Linked DNA regions of Homo sapiens: all the other regions are linked to region 1. Evidence: promoter capture Hi-C in 16 types of primary human blood cells and fetal thymus (Javierre and others, 2016). All regions are on one chromosome and are shown on one strand. Each heading gives the region's core, a stretch centred on a gene start or on the middle of the fragment in contact. The rest is flanking DNA. Distances are from core to core; before and after follow the strand shown. Region 1 holds the start of ZDHHC9 (zDHHC palmitoyltransferase 9). Region 2 overlaps SASH3 (SAM and SH3 domain containing 3). Region 3 has its middle 27 kb from the start of UTP14A.

Region 1 (4,970 bases), core at 583-3,082:
ACATCATCAAAAGTCCAATTGCTAGCCCTAAGAAAAAGCAGAAAAAGAAAAAAAAATGAGGCAATAATAAGAAAATACAGTTCAACCCTCCTTTCCCAGAGACAGAAAGTTGAAAACTGACTGAAGGGGTGGGGACGGGGAAGTGGGAAAAGTTTATTTCCAATTCGTGTTTGTTCTCTAAAAGAAGGTATGATAAAAGGTTCTCAAAAAAGGAAAGGGGCTAGTATTTCTTCTTAAATAAGCCTCTATGCTTCCAATCTAATGCTGATGATCTGATCATCACAGAACCTTGGAACTAGAGAGGATTTTATAGGTGATCGTGCCAATTATTAATACTTTGTTTTGTAAATGAGTAAACTGAGGACCAGAGAGAGGAAATAACTTATCCAGGACCACACAGCAGCAATGCTGATACTGCTAACTTCCAGTCAAGGGCATGTTCCACTATGCCACAGTGTTCTTTCAACATCATTAAAAGGACTCTAAAAATAATAGTAGAGTTTCTGTCCTTATAAAACCTCCCTCCCTTCCTCCACTTCACCTTCTTTCTTCAATTAGCCACTCGAATATGAATCACAGCAGGGAACAAGTCACCCTCTGGCAGGGCCAGGAGGTTCTGGACGCTCTGTGCACATACGTGCATTGTATTTACACAAAACAGATTTCCCCTCATCAAACCCTCTGCAACTTCCTGAGTCCGGGAAATGAAACAATCTGGCTGGTCTAGCCTAACATTTGTGAGAATCTTAATGAAACCACATCAGAGACCTGTAGGTGAAAGGCTGACTTAAGCAGGAGAGATTCTGGAATGGTTGGTGACTGCTGATGGCTGGTTGGGGGGTGGGGAATGGCAGCAGCTAAGAAAAGTCACAAGGGCGCTTTCTGGGACATGTCCTAAGTACCATCTCTACTCAGCATCCTGAATTCCCAGGCCCAGAGTTTCTCAGCCTCTGCTACCCTTCTCCTCCGCTCAGGTGTGGTGTTGTGGCCTCTATTTACCGACACCACATGCCCCACGCTGGCAGGACTGAGGCGGAAGCCTGCAGCCCGACGGACGGAGGGAGAAACAGCCAACTCGCGGGCTGGAGAGGGCAAAGGTCCAAAAACAGCCTAGGAGCGGAGCAGGGAAACGAGAAGGTAGAAGGTTCGGGGAAGGGGAGGGGGGCCCAGAGGTGCAGAGAACCCGTCCTTTGTGTAAAACTAACCTGGAAGACAATCTCCTCCCGATAAACCGGCCCAGCGGGAGAAGGGAGACCAGGAAGGGGGAGCCGGCCTGGAAGAACAAAGATCAAAATCCGTCGGGAAGCAGCGACCGGCTCCCCAGCGGGGGGCCGGAGGCCGGAGGCCGGAGTCCGGGGCCGAGCCGCGGGCGCGGCCTCTCGAGGCCCGCCCTGACTCCGCCACGCCGCGGACCACCGCCCCAGGCAGGTTGGGACGCGCGCCACATCCACACGCACACGCAGCCACACGCTCGTACACACTCACACACGCCCCGCCACGTGTAGTCACCCCGGGCCAGGGGCTCGGCGGCTGCCGAGTTGAGAAGGGCGGTGCCGACGTCCCCGCCTCCAGGCGCCGCGGAAGGGGAGGCAGCCCACCCTGCAGCCGAGCCCAGGAGACCCCCGCCCCCACCCCTCGTTACCTGAACCACGGAGACCCAACTCGGCCGGCAGCTGACGGCAGGAAACGGACCGTCCCAGGGAATCACGTCGGCAGCCAAAGGTGGCAGCGACTTGTCCTCCCCGGGCCGGGAGGCTGTCTCCTCCTGACAAGGGGCCCCAGTGGTCGGGGCCCTAAACCAGCTGTGGCAACCGCCCACCACTGGCCAAATGGAACGCTCCTCACGTCACCAGGTCGCTCCAGTAGTTGCTCGCCCTCTATTGGCCGATCGGCCTCGGCGCCTCCGCCCCGGCCGCCCCTATCCCGAACTGCCATTGGTTTTGCCTAACGCCACTCGACGATGCCTCCGCCCACTCCTCCACCCATCTCCCTGCTGCATGCCCACCTGCCAAGCCACTGCCAGCCTCTCTTTGGGGTCTGAGCGCCAGTATGTGAAGTGTTGCCTTCTATTAATATAGTTACGCAGAGACGGAGGTTAAGGGTAGTGCCGATGGGACAGCAAAGGGTGGAACCAGCCTACACACACGCGCGCGCGCGCGCACACACACACACGCGCGCGCACACACACACACAGTGAGATGCTGAAGCAACACTAGCTCACAGATCCGGGTGCTCACCCCAAACTAGGTCTGCCATGGGCCTCTCCAGCCCTGCTTGCATTTTAAAATCAACCGCAACTTGAGATTTTACTCTTTATCGGCATAAAAACAAGTCATCTGCCTCCCAAGTCTCATTCAGTAGCCAGGGACCCCATATCTGTCCCAGTCACCCTAGCCTGCATCTCTAAGTCTTTCAAATCAAAACACACAAACAAGCATAAAAAGCATGTTGTAAAGGATAAATGTCCCCAAGAACGTATTATCATTTTGCAGCACCTAAAACAACTAATTGACATTAATGGAGTTAAAGAAACTCCACTGAGGACATAAATTCTTCCAGGTAGGTAATGAAGTAAAGATTGCCAAAAAGGTTGTAAATTTTTATTCGGTTTGGAAAGCTTATGATGATTAAGGGGAGAATCCAAGGCAGAATTCCCACCCACCAACCAGATTGATTTTTTCCTTCTGCCACCCAGCTCTGCATTACTGCCACCATGAGCCACTGCTACTGATCCGAGTGAGTTGCATGCATTAAAAGTTTGAGATTGGGCTGGGCGCGGTGGCTCACGCCTGTAATCCCAGCACTTTGGGAGGCCGAGGCAGGTGGATCACCTGAGGTCAGGAGTTCAAGACCAGCCTGGCCAACATGGCAAAACCCGTCTCTACTAGAAAGACAAAAGTTAGCGGGGAGCGGTGGGACTCGCCTGTAGTCCCAGCTACCAGGGAGGCTGAGGCAGGAGGATCACTTGAACCCAGGAGGTGAAGGTTGCAGTGAGCCAAGATCATGCCACTGCACTCCAGCCTGGGCGACAGAGAGAGACCCTGTCTTAAAAAAAAAAAAAAAAAAGTTTGAGATTGAAGGGGGGAAACAATTGAGAACCACAGTATTATACTATAGGGTGACTTTAAAAGACACTAGGTCTGTTTTCACCAGTATGGCTCCTGCCTTCCAAATATAAGAGGAAATATGAGAAAAGGTTGAAGGTGGCATCTCCTTTCCAAGTGTAAGAGGAGATAAGAGAAAAGGTTGAAGATTGGAGGAGAATGCCTACATTACCAGCCTAGGTTTTCCTAAGCGTGATAAAAATTTCAAAGTTTTAGAGATTTGGTATTTGGAATTAGTACAGAAGAGACTGCCAAAGCTCTTCCTAAGGCAGTTGTATGTTAGTTGAAGGACCACATACATGGTCAAGAACTATTTTTCCTTTACAGTATATGTGTCCCACACAATATGAAACAAAAAGCTACATAATAATTACATTTGACACTTTCATGGCACCCTTCAAAATTCTTAAAGGATTTAAAAAACACTAGGTAATTCTGAGATGTGTTGTAATTAACTTGCAAAGGAAGGTTTGTCTTTATAAAGCTTCCATTGTTCCTTAGCACTCATGCTGATTATGATCAACAGTTTATTCCTCATGAAGTGTACGATCAGTATCATTGCCTCCAATTCTCCCGCTTTGAATTCTGGAGGGTGCTGGTATTGCACACACTTGGTATGGGAGGGAGAAGAACTTCCCTAAACCTCATCAGCCCTGTGGATTTCCAAGCCTATGTATATCAGATGCCCTTAGGAATAGTATGGTCACCCCAGCTGCCATCCTTCTGACTATGGAGCAGTGAAAAATAAGCCTCTGTAGCACTCAAACATATTTTGTCCATAGCTCAGGTGCAGGTGAAGCCTGAGGAGTCCTGGAATCGATGTGTCATGGTGACACATTCCTGAGCTCTGTCCCTCCCTGCTCTGGGTCACATTCCCTCTCGGACTAAGTGGCTATGTGAGTCAGGCTTGTTTTATTACAATCTGTTATTATTTATTCTCAACACTCAAAGAAAAATAAGGAAAATTTATGTGGACAAACATCCCATAGTACTTCCTCCTATGTAGTTACATCATTTTATATAATCCTTAAAGTCTTAATACACACACACAACTAAATTGTGACTATAAACTGAGACTGTTTTTTCCTATTCTTTTCTCTTCTCTTTTCAACAGACTTCCCACTTTTTACATCCAAGTCAGTGTTGGCTCTTTTGAAAAGAGGTTATAGGCCGGGCACAGTGGCTCACGTCTGTAATCCCAGCACTATGGGAGGCCAAGGCAGGCAGATCACTTGAGGACAGGAGTTTGAGACCAGCCTGGCCAACATGGTGAAACCCTATCTCTAGCCAGGCATGGTGGCAGGTGCCTGTAATCCCAGCTACTCAGGAGGCTGAGCATGAGAATCACTTGAATCTGGGAGGCGGAGGTTGCAATGAGCCCAGATCGCTCCACTGCACTCCAGCCTGGACGACAGAGCGAGATTCCATCTAAGAGAGAGAGAGAGAGAGAGAGAGGGAGAGAAAGAAAGAAAGAAAGAAAGAGAGAGAAGAAAAGGGGTTATAGTCATGTGATGAGCACTAGAAACACCACAAAAATCAAGGTATAGCCTTCCAGTTTATAAGACAGCTCCTTGTGTTATCATGTATGTTCTGGAGTATTTGTTTAAAAATACCTGTCTCCACATTTATTCTTCATGTGTGTGTGTTTGTGTGTGTGTGTGTGTGTGTGTAGGCGTGTGTAGGTGTAGGTGTAATGTGCTGTTTGATCCTGAGTGCCACCACTGGGTTGAAGCTTTCCTGTTAGTGTTGCTTCAAAGACTCTTCTGTAACCACCCGGAGACCCATTCAGTACTACATCCAGGAGCAGACATAAAGCATCAGCCCCCATCCTGCTTTTGAGCTCATGATAGCTCCTTTATTCTCTAT
Region 2 (4,970 bases), core at 875-3,374, 52 kb before region 1:
TCGAGACCAGCCTGGCCAACATGGCAAAATCCCGTCTCTACTAAAAATACCAAAACAAATTAGCCAGGCGTGGTGGCAGGTGCCTGTAATCCCAGATACTCGGGAGGCTAAGGCAGGAGAATTGCTTGAACCCGGGAGGTGGAGGTTTCAGTGAGCCAAGATCACACCACTGCACTCTGGTCTGGGTGACAAGAGCAAAACTCCGTCTCAAAAAAAAGAAAAAAAAAGAGAGAAAACAGAGAAGGCTGGCTTCAGCCCAGGGAGGAAAGTTGGCACAGGCAGCTGTGGGGCAGGCATGACCCAAGAAGCTTAAATCACACAGTGGGTTTGGGTTGCCATGGCTCTAAAAGGAGCCACTGAGGCAGTGGTGTGCTGGAGTTGGCTCGTACTGGGCTTATACCAGCTCACAAGAGCAGTTGGTCAAACTGTCAAAAATTGTGCAAGCCAGTTGTTAAACACAACCATTATTAAAAATCAAATTAAAGAAACTTACAATTCAGTTAATTATATTTTTTTAAAAAGGTAAACTGGGCATGGTGGTGTACACCTATAATCCCAGCTACTCAGGAGGACGAGGCAAGATGATTGCTTGAGCCCAGTAAGAGTCCAGCCTGGGCAACATAGGGAGACTCTGTCTCTAAATAAATAAATTTAAAAAAATAAAATTTTGTAAAAACGAACAAAGGTAATACAGTAAATCTTCAAAACTCATCACTTCCTAATTCTTGTACTACCTTTTACTCTTATCAATGCTGCTGAGGTTACGTGCATCCATAGCATCTTCATGGTGGCAATAGCCTCACCCTCATTTCAGACAACACGTCCAGTGATGTCAAAATGGTAGCTTGACATTGGCCGTGGAGGGGAGTGTTTACAACACAGGAATTGGCAACTCATCAGGGCCAGCTGTTAAACAGTTATCACCTCACTGAGGTGTGGTGAGGTAGGGGGAGCTCTGGAGTCTGGCTTGGTTGTGGGTTGCCTTGGGACTTGAACCTGAATTCCCTTGGCCTGAGTTTACAGATGAGGAGTAAGTAACCCTTGGGCCTTACTCCTCATTTGTAAACTCAGGCCAACAATACCACTTACCTTCAAGTGTCACTGTAAGGATTCAGTGAAATGGCAGGCAGGCCTGGCACACAGAAACACAGGCAAAAGTAGTTTCCTCTCTAGCGACATTGTCTGCCCAGTTGTGCGGTAGCAATGGTTGAGTCCAGGTTGTGCCACCGTGGTCTTTTCTGTATGTACATCGGCACTTGAGGCTGACAAAAGCACATCCACATGGTGCCCTGGTTGAACCTGTTTCTGTGAGGTAACCAGGGCAAGGACTGTCACTCTCATTTTTACAAAAGGGGAAGAAACTAGGGCTCAGAGAGTGCCATTCAGCCTATAAGTGGTAGAGTTGGGGTTTGAGCCAGCCCCTAGCTCTTCACTAAGCCCAGGCCCATTTCTTCAGCTTCATGCACACCCCAGCAAGGCTCCTTAAAGCTTCCCGCCTACCCTCCCTGCAGGCAGACACTCTGGAGGAGGGCTCTGCCTCCCCGACATCTCCAGACTACAGCCTGGACAGCCCTGGCCCTGAGAAGATGGCGCTGGCCTTTTCTGAGCAAGAGGAGCATGAACTTCCGGTGCTCAGCCGCCAGGCATCAACAGGTGAGTAGGGGATGCGGGGGACACCTGCCGAATCTGGAGGAAAGGACTGGGTTACAGCCGTGCTGGTGGCACACTGTCTGGGCGGGGGGTAAGAGAAATGAATGCTTACTCTTTGCCTGCTGGGAACATTCTCAGTCCTCTTCACATTAAATCTTCTCAACAACCTCATGGGGCCAGTACTGTTATCCTTGCTTTATTGATGTGGAAACAGGGTCTTAGGGAGGTTAAGTGACTTGCCCAAGATGACCCAGTCTTGAACTCAGATGTACCGTAGAGGAACTTCCACTTGCTATCCTCAGGCCCCGGAGAGGCCCACGGGCAGAGGAAGAGTCTCAGTCACCCTCTTGGACCAGCCCGTCCCCACCTTTCCAAGGGGAGCTAGAGGCTACAGATCCCTGGGCCTCTGATGCCCCAGTCGGGGGTGGGCGTATGAGGTCTCCAGCTGTGAAGAGTCAGCCTCTTGACCCTAGACCATAGTTGCTGGGCTCAGGGCATCACCTGGCATCTTCTAGAAGTCCATGGGACAGGACAAGAGGTGCCAGCAGGGAACTCGTCCAGGCAGGGGCTTTGGGTTCTGCAGCCCCATTCAGCACCGCCTTTCTTGCCCCTCAAGTCCACTCCAAGTTTCCTGCTTTCTCTGCCTCCACAGACACTTCCCTGCCCCCGACTGAAAATCATTCAAAATGCCCACTACTCTGTACTTCCCAGGGAGAAGGAGCCCAACTGAGTTTCTATGTGACATTGTAACTACACATTGAGTTAAGCAGGGAAAGTCAAATATGAATGCAGGGCATAGCTTCCTGGGTGGAGGGAGCGTTGGAGTGGGTATCAGGGAACATGGAGTCTAATGGACTGACTCAGTGCTGCCAGTTATAAAATGAGAAGCCTTGAGCAGTTCACTTGGTCTGTGTGACCTCAGATTTCCGCATCTGTTCATTGGAGTGTTGGCCCAGTTGTTCTCTAGAGGCCCTCCTAATTTGCCCATTCTTTGGTCAGTGAGCCATTTCTCCTCCCATTGCCAACTCTTTTCATGTCCAAGGGCCCAGAGGTGAAGCCGTGCTCCTGGTCGGTAGCCAAGGGGGTGGTTCAGAATCCCTTCTGCAGTGTAAAGCTTGCCAGAGCCCAGCTGCCTTCCCGGTGTATACCCTTGGGATTTCTAGGCAGGTCCCCTGGAAGGCACCTGCTAGGCACTGTCTCAGCTGTTCTAGGACAAAGGTGAGCCTCCTCCCTGCCCCATCTCCTGCAGGCAGTGAGCTCTGCAGCCCCAGCCCAGGTTCTGGCAGCTTCGGGGAGGAACCACCTGCCCCCCAGTACACAGGGCCTTTCTGTGGCCGGGCACGAGTCCACACCGACTTCACTCCCAGCCCCTATGACCACGACTCGCTGAAACTGCAGGTAAGATCAGCATCCGGGCTTCTCTGGAGCCTGGCAGGCTGTGCCCAAAAAGGAAGCTGGACTGAACCAGGCTATGACAGTGTCAGTGGAGGCCAAGGCCCCCCATATCCTCTCTCCCTTGCTCCCTTCTCCTCTCCTCTCCCCCAACAGAAAGGAGATGTGATCCAGATCATTGAAAAGCCACCTGTGGGCACGTGGCTGGGCCTACTCAATGGCAAGGTGGGCTCTTTCAAATTCATCTATGTGGATGTGCTGCCCGAGGAGGCCGTGGGGCATGCCCGCCCCAGCCGCCGACAGAGCAAGGGCAAGAGGCCCAAGCCTAAGACCCTGCATGAGCTGCTGGAGCGCATCGGCCTGGAGGTTTGAGCTTGGTCCTCACTAGTATCTAGTATCAGGGAGGCACAACTGCCCCAGGGATGGGGACCAGGAAATGACAGCTATGCGTAGTTGGGGAGGACCTAGGCAGGGGTGGCTGGTAAGCAGCTGTGCCGATGGCCTGCCTCTGCCTACAGGAGCACACATCCACCCTCCTGCTCAATGGCTACCAGACACTGGAAGACTTCAAAGAGCTGCGAGAAACACACCTCAATGAGCTGAACATCATGGATCCACAGCACCGGGCCAAGCTGCTCACGGCCGCCGAGCTGCTGCTGGACTATGACAGTGAGTGGCTTTAGGAGCGGCCTGGTGAGGGTGTGTGCCCACCGGCATTCCAGGGAGGGGAGGCTTGCCCTGGCCTTGCCTTCTGTCCACGCTCTGCCCTAGGACTGCTCTGCAGTGGAAAGGTACTTTCCACTTGAATTAGAATTTCAGGGAAAGTGTACGGGAGAAAGGAGTTGTAGGGATGATTGGGCCCAACCTCCTTTGGATCAAAGGGGACCCTTAAGGCCAAAGAAGGCAAAGCCTTACTTGAGGCCTCAAAGCTGAGTAATAACAGAGCCAGGATTCAAGCCCACTGCCTGGCTCCAGCTTAGTGCTAAAGAAGTGTGAGCTCCTGGACTGCAGAGCTGGCCTGGAAACAACTCCTACCAGCTTCTAAGCTGGAAGCAGTGAGGAGAGGGGCAGGGCGGTGGCAGGTGCCCAGAAGGAGAGACTGCCTATGGTGTATTTCCCAAGGTCCCTACCTCCACCCCCATATTCTGTCTCCCTCTCTCGTCCCTGGCAGCTGGCAGTGAGGAGGCTGAAGAGGGCGCCGAGAGCAGCCAGGAGCCAGTGGCACACACAGTGTCGGAACCCAAGGTGGACATCCCGCGCGACTCAGGCTGCTTTGAGGGCTCGGAGAGCGGGCGCGATGACGCAGAGCTGGCAGGCACTGAGGAGCAGCTGCAAGGCCTCTCCCTGGCCGGGGCACCTTGAGGTGGCGGTGGCAATAGGCCAAGGCTGGGACCCAGCTGCAAAGGCTGTAGGAGTGGGCCCAGCCTCCCGTGGTGGCCCAGGTCCTGAGGACTGGCACTGAGCCTGGCCCTGCTTCCCCAGGGACACTTAGGGCCACAGAGGCCAGGCCAGGGCCCTACAGGTTCCAGGCTCAGCTGGAGTGGTTGGGGAGTCGCCCAAGGGCACATCCCACCTGCCTGAGCCCCGCCCTCCACCAGCGACTGACAGCGCAGCCCCTCCTGGCACCAACTGCTCCCCTGCCATGGCCACGGCCACAGCAAGTGGGGCACTGGGAAACCCTGCCCATGTCCCTCACCAACAAGGCCTCCAAATCCTCCTCACCCCCACACCACCTACCCCTGTCGCACTGCTCCTGAAAAGGGGGCCAAGTCAATGTTTCAGGTCAGTCTAAAAACCCTAGGGAAGCTGGCCATTTAAAAGAACCCAAACTGACCATGGGTAAATCCAGTTCCCCTAAATAAGGCCTGAAGAAATCCACAGGTACCATTCCCACTTTCCTTCTCCCTAGCTTTCTTAGAGGTTTGGCC
Region 3 (4,970 bases), core at 1,193-3,692, 35 kb after region 1:
AGGGAAATACTGGACAGAAGAGGGCAGTTCCCCAGCAAAGGCCCCACCCTCAAGCCTGGATATCCACAGCCCTAAGTGAGAACAGGCATTCCTGTTTTTGTGCCGAAAATGTTGCCTTTTGGCCCATCACGCCCCCATCCTGTACCCATATAAACCCCAAACCCGAGGCTCCAGAAGCAGGAGATGAGGAGATGAGCAGACAAATGGCAGAATGGCACGGCACAGGAGAGAAGAGAAGAAACGTCAGGAGTTTTGCTGGGGGTGGTCAGAGAATCAGCCACCAGATGGCCAAACTGCAAGGGAAGATCATCTTCCCACTCCATCCCCTGTCCAGCTCCTCATCTATCCCACTGAGAGCCACCTCCACCACCCAATAAAACCCTGCATTCTCCATCCTTCAAGTCCATGTGTGACCTGATTCTTCCAGGATTCTGGACAACAGCTCAGGATACAGAAAACTGTCACACTGGCCCTCTGCCTTTGCAGAAAGGCAGAGGGTCCACTGAGCTGATTAACACTTAAGCCATCTGCAGATGGCAAGGCTAAAAGAGTGCACTGTAACACACGCCCACTTGGGCTCCTGCACCTGTCTGTCTGTGTACTCCCCCTCCTGTAAGAGGTTTGAGCAGCGACCAAACAGACAAGCCACACCCATCACACGTCCTGTGAGGGGGGCCAGGGAACTCTCCCCTTTCACTGGCACATTTGTTGGATCCTCAATCATGTCCCTGGTGTTAGCGGCCCAGCCACACTGACAGGCCAAGCAACACAGCTGCACACAGTGTGAGAAGAACTTCTTATCCACTAGTGCTCTTCAGATTCACAAGTGGACTCACACTAGAGAATAGCCTTTTGTGTGCAGCATACATGGGCAAGCTTTTACCACCAAAGGCAACTTGAAGGTCCACTGTATGACTCATGGAGCAAACAATAACTCAGCACACCAGAGAAGGAAGCTAGCCATTGAGAACACTATGGCTTAATTAGGTATGAATGGAAAGAATCTCAGAAATGTTTACTGGAAATCCTGGCCCCTTCAGTGAAGGTGGTGGAACCAATATACCAACATGCTCAACAGTGGTCTTGCCATGAAGACTAGCGAGATCTCTATGACCCAGAGTGGTGGTGTTCCCACCCTCCCAGTTTCTGTGGGGGCCAACTCTGCTGTGAATAACACTGCTGAGTCCAAGATGGATGGCTCCCAGTCAGGTATCAGTGCCAATGTGGAAAAACCAGGTGCTACTGAGACTGTTCCCACACATTGGTTCCCTCACTTCCTGGAAGAAAACAAGATTGTGGTCAGCTAAGCTAAAGGGGAACTTGCCTGGAAGAAGAAATGTAGACAGAGTGAAATGTCTAGACCATGCTTGTTCAACCCTCAGCCCGCAGGCCACATGCAGCCCAGGGCGGCTTTGAATGTGGCCCAACACAAATTCGTGAAGTTTCTTAAAACATTCTGAGATTTTTTTGTGATTTTTTTTTTAAGCTCATCGGCTATTGTTAGTATTCGTGTATTTTATGTGTGGCCCAAGACAATTCTTCTTCCAAGGTGGCCCAGGGAAGCCAAAAGATTGGACACCCCTAGTCTAGACTGTGCTTTTTATTCTTTTATTATTTTTTATTTGTATAAATTTATGGGGTGCAAGTGTAATTTTGTTACCTGCATAGATTGTGTAGTGGTGAAGTCAGGGCTTTTAGGGTATTGATCACCCAAATAACCTACAATGTACCCCTTAAGTAATCACTCATTATCCACCCCTTGCCTTACCCTTCCAAGTCTCTGTTGTCTATCATTCCACACACTACCTCCGTGTGTACACTTTATTTAGCTCCCACTTATAAGTGAGAACATGTGATATTTGTCTTTCTGTGCCTGGCTTGTTTCACCAAAGTTAATGGCCTCCAGTTCCATCCATGTTGCTGCAAAAGACATGATTGCATTTTTTTATGGCTGCATAGTATTCCATGATGTATACATACCACAGTTTCTTTATCTAATCCTCCGTTGATGGACACTTAGGTTGATTCCTTATCTTCGCTATTGTGAATAGTGCTGTGATAAACATACTATTGCAGGTGTCTTTTTGATATAATGATTTATTTTTCTTTGGGTAGATACCCGGTAGTGGGATTGCTGGATGGAAAGTAGTTGCATTTTTCGTTCTTTGAGAAATCTCCATACAGTTTTCCATAGAGGTTACACTAATTTACATTCCCACCAACAGTGTATAAGAGTTCATTCCCTTTTCTCCCCATCCTCACTAACATCTGTTAGTTTTTCTCTTTTTAATAATAGCCATCTGACTAGTGTAAGATGGTTTATCATTGTGGTTTTAATTTGCACATCTCTGATGATTAGCGATGTTGAGCATTTTTTCATGTCCGTTGGCCACTTGTCTTCTTTTGAGAAATGTCTATTCATGTCCTTTGCCCACTTTTTAATGGGATTATTTGTTTTCTTTTTTTTAAAAAAAAAACCCATCTCCTCCTCCCGTTTTCCTTATTCTTACTGATATGCAAATGATGTTTACAGATGGCAATCTCAGGCAGTTCTACAATCACAATTGTTATGCTGCTTTGCAAAACATAAAAACAAAAAAATCAAAAAAAGAAAATATCTATACCAAAACAAATACAGACTATAATTATTTTTTAATTTTGGAAAGAAGCAAGTCTTGAAAGTAGCTTTGTTACTTCCAACAAACTATATACATAGAAATTCTGTACAGCCTACAGTAACTACTTCCCAAGACTGTCGCCTATTTCAAGGTGGAACAGTTTGAACTTATTGAACCACAGTGGAAAAGACAACTACTTAGATTAATGGGGTGAGGAGGAGTACTGTATACTTCCATGATAACTGTCTGCAAGTAAATGGACAAGGTTATCATCTATTTAGGAACCTGTTTTGTATGTCTCCTAACCCTGTACCCATCTTTTGTTTTTTGAAAGTACTTTCAAAAATAAAGCAAAAAAAAAGATTATAGAATTACAAATTCCTCCAACATTTTTTTTTTTTTAAGACGGAGTCTCGCTCTTTTCACCCAGGCGGGAGTGCAGTGGCGCTATCTCAGCTCACTGCAAGCTCCGCCTCCCAGGTTCACGCCATTCTCCTGCCTCAGCCTCCCCAGTAGCTGGGACCACAGGCGCCCGGCTAATTTTTTTGTATTTTTTTAGTAGAGAGGGGGTTTCACCGTGTTAGCCAAGATGGTCTCGATCTCCTGACCTCGTGATCCACCTGCCTCGGCCTCCCAAAGTGCTGGGATTACAGGCGTGAGCCACCGCACCTGGCCTAATTCCTCCAACTTTTTTTGTTTTCTAGATGGAGTCTCGCTGTCACCCAGGAGGCTGGAGTGCAAGGGCGCAATCTCGGCTCACTGCAACTTCCACCTCTGGGGGTCAAGGGATTCTCCTGCCTCAGCCTCCCAAGTAGCTGGGATTACAGGTACCCACCACCACACCCAGCTAATTTTTGTATTTTTAGTAGAGACGGGGTTTCAGTTTCACCATGTTGGCCAGGCTGGTCTCAAACTCCTGGACTCAAGTGATTTGCCCCACCTCAGCCTCCCAAAGTGCTGGATTACAGGGGTGAGCCACTGTGTCTGGACTCCTTTAACTTTAGAACTTTAAATAGGATGTCCTCAAATGGACTTATGTTAGTTGTTAGGGAGTCAATGTCTGCTTATTTAAAAAACAGCTCAGTTGCAGCCACAAGAGTTCAAATGTATTCCACACACTTCCCTTTGCCTTCCTGAACACCAGAAGAGGTGGGCCACTGAGCAAGGAATCTCAGGTGACTTAATTTAGTTCACCAGTGCCCACTCTGTTGAAGAACTGGATTTTCATTCCAGAGGAGAAACTCATGGGAAGGAGTGTTTCCTTTCACAGGGTCACATACTAATTTTTAAAAAATATAGTTGGTGCAACTTATGCCAAGTAATTATGCAGATTTTTTGCCCTGAGTATTGCATGAAGGCTACAAAGTTGGAACAGGCAAATCCTGGGTATGAAAGCTTTAGTTTAAATATTTCACTTTTTTTGTAGCCATAGTGTCTATTTTCCTATTTTATGACCACTGAAGTATTCCCAGGCCCTGTCTTTTTGTTTGTTTGTTTGTTTGTTTTTGAGACGGAGTCTCACTCTGTCACCCAGGCTGGAGTACAGTGGCACAATCTCAGCTCACTGCAACCTCCGCTTCCCAGGTTCAAGGGATTCTCCTGCCTCAGCCTCCCAAGTAGCTGAGACTACAGGCATGTGCCACCATGCCCGGCTAATTTTTTGTATTTTTAGTACAGATGGGGTTTCTCTATGTTGGCCAGGCTGGTTTCAAACTCCTGACCTCAGGTGATCCACTGGCCTTGTCCTCCCAAAGTGCTGGGTTTACAGGTGTAAGCCACCATGCCTGGCTGCTGTCTTAAACCTAAGTGTTACTGGTGGAGGGTGTCCAGGTTCTTGTCGTATTGGACAAAACAGACAAAGCAAGGAAAGAATGAAGCAACAAAAGCAGATTTATTGAAAATGGAAGTATACTCCACAGTGTGGGAGCGGACCTGAGCAGCGGCTCAAGGGCCCAGATACAGAATCTTCTTGGGTCCAAATACCCCCTAGAGGTTTCCCATTCCCATTGGCCACTTGGTGTTCACCTCATGTAAATGAAGTGGTGGCCCACAATCACTCTGATTTGTTGCTGTCTGCAACCAATTTCGAAGTTACAAAATTACACTCTTATGCAAACCTGTGATTGGTTTTTGCAACCGGTCAGAGGTACTTTCAATTTCCCATCTGCCAGGCAGAAAAGGTGGAGGTTTGCAGAGGGAATAGTCTCTGGTCCTTTTGTTATTTAGGTGTGGAAAGTTGGGGTTTCCCTTTCAATTTAGTTCTAGGAAGTCAGCATGAACCGGACTTGGGTTCCCTGCCTCCAGACCCTATTCTCCTGCTTCATAAGAGTTGATGTATTGGTGGGAACAGCT

What was found. Contacts are between HindIII fragments. The CHiCAGO score rates a contact against its expected background, and 5 or more counts as called.
Region 2: a fragment that was not itself captured here is called in contact with the fragment with the promoter of ZDHHC9 in region 1 in 2 of 17 cell types (non-activated CD4 T cells and neutrophils); the score reaches 5.6 in non-activated CD4 T cells.
Region 3: a contact is called between a fragment that was not itself captured here and the fragment with the promoter of ZDHHC9 in region 1, in 5 of 17 cell types (M0 macrophages, M2 macrophages, M1 macrophages and 2 more). The highest score is 6.4, in M0 macrophages.

The regions. Positions count from the first base shown.
Region 1 is chrX:129,842,054-129,847,023 of GRCh38, forward strand. It overlaps ZDHHC9 (zDHHC palmitoyltransferase 9), which reads right to left and starts at 1,833. Exons shown (of 11, transcript NM_016032.4): 1 at 1,643-1,833; 2 at 1,206-1,273; 3 at 1-27. The HindIII fragment of the contact is 4,624 bases long and covers 1-2,615 here.
Region 2 is chrX:129,789,429-129,794,398 of GRCh38, forward strand. It overlaps SASH3 (SAM and SH3 domain containing 3), which reads left to right. Exons shown (of 8, transcript NM_018990.4): 4 at 1,512-1,653; 5 at 2,900-3,048; 6 at 3,199-3,408; 7 at 3,561-3,711; 8 at 4,214-4,970. The coding sequence ends at 4,404. Among named protein-coding and RNA genes, the nearest start is that of SASH3, 12 kb to the left of the region's middle. The HindIII fragment of the contact is 1,276 bases long and covers 1,487-2,762 here.
Region 3 is chrX:129,876,267-129,881,236 of GRCh38, forward strand. It overlaps the pseudogene SALL4P2. Among named protein-coding and RNA genes, the nearest start is that of UTP14A, 27 kb to the right of the region's middle. The HindIII fragment of the contact is 3,137 bases long and covers 875-4,011 here.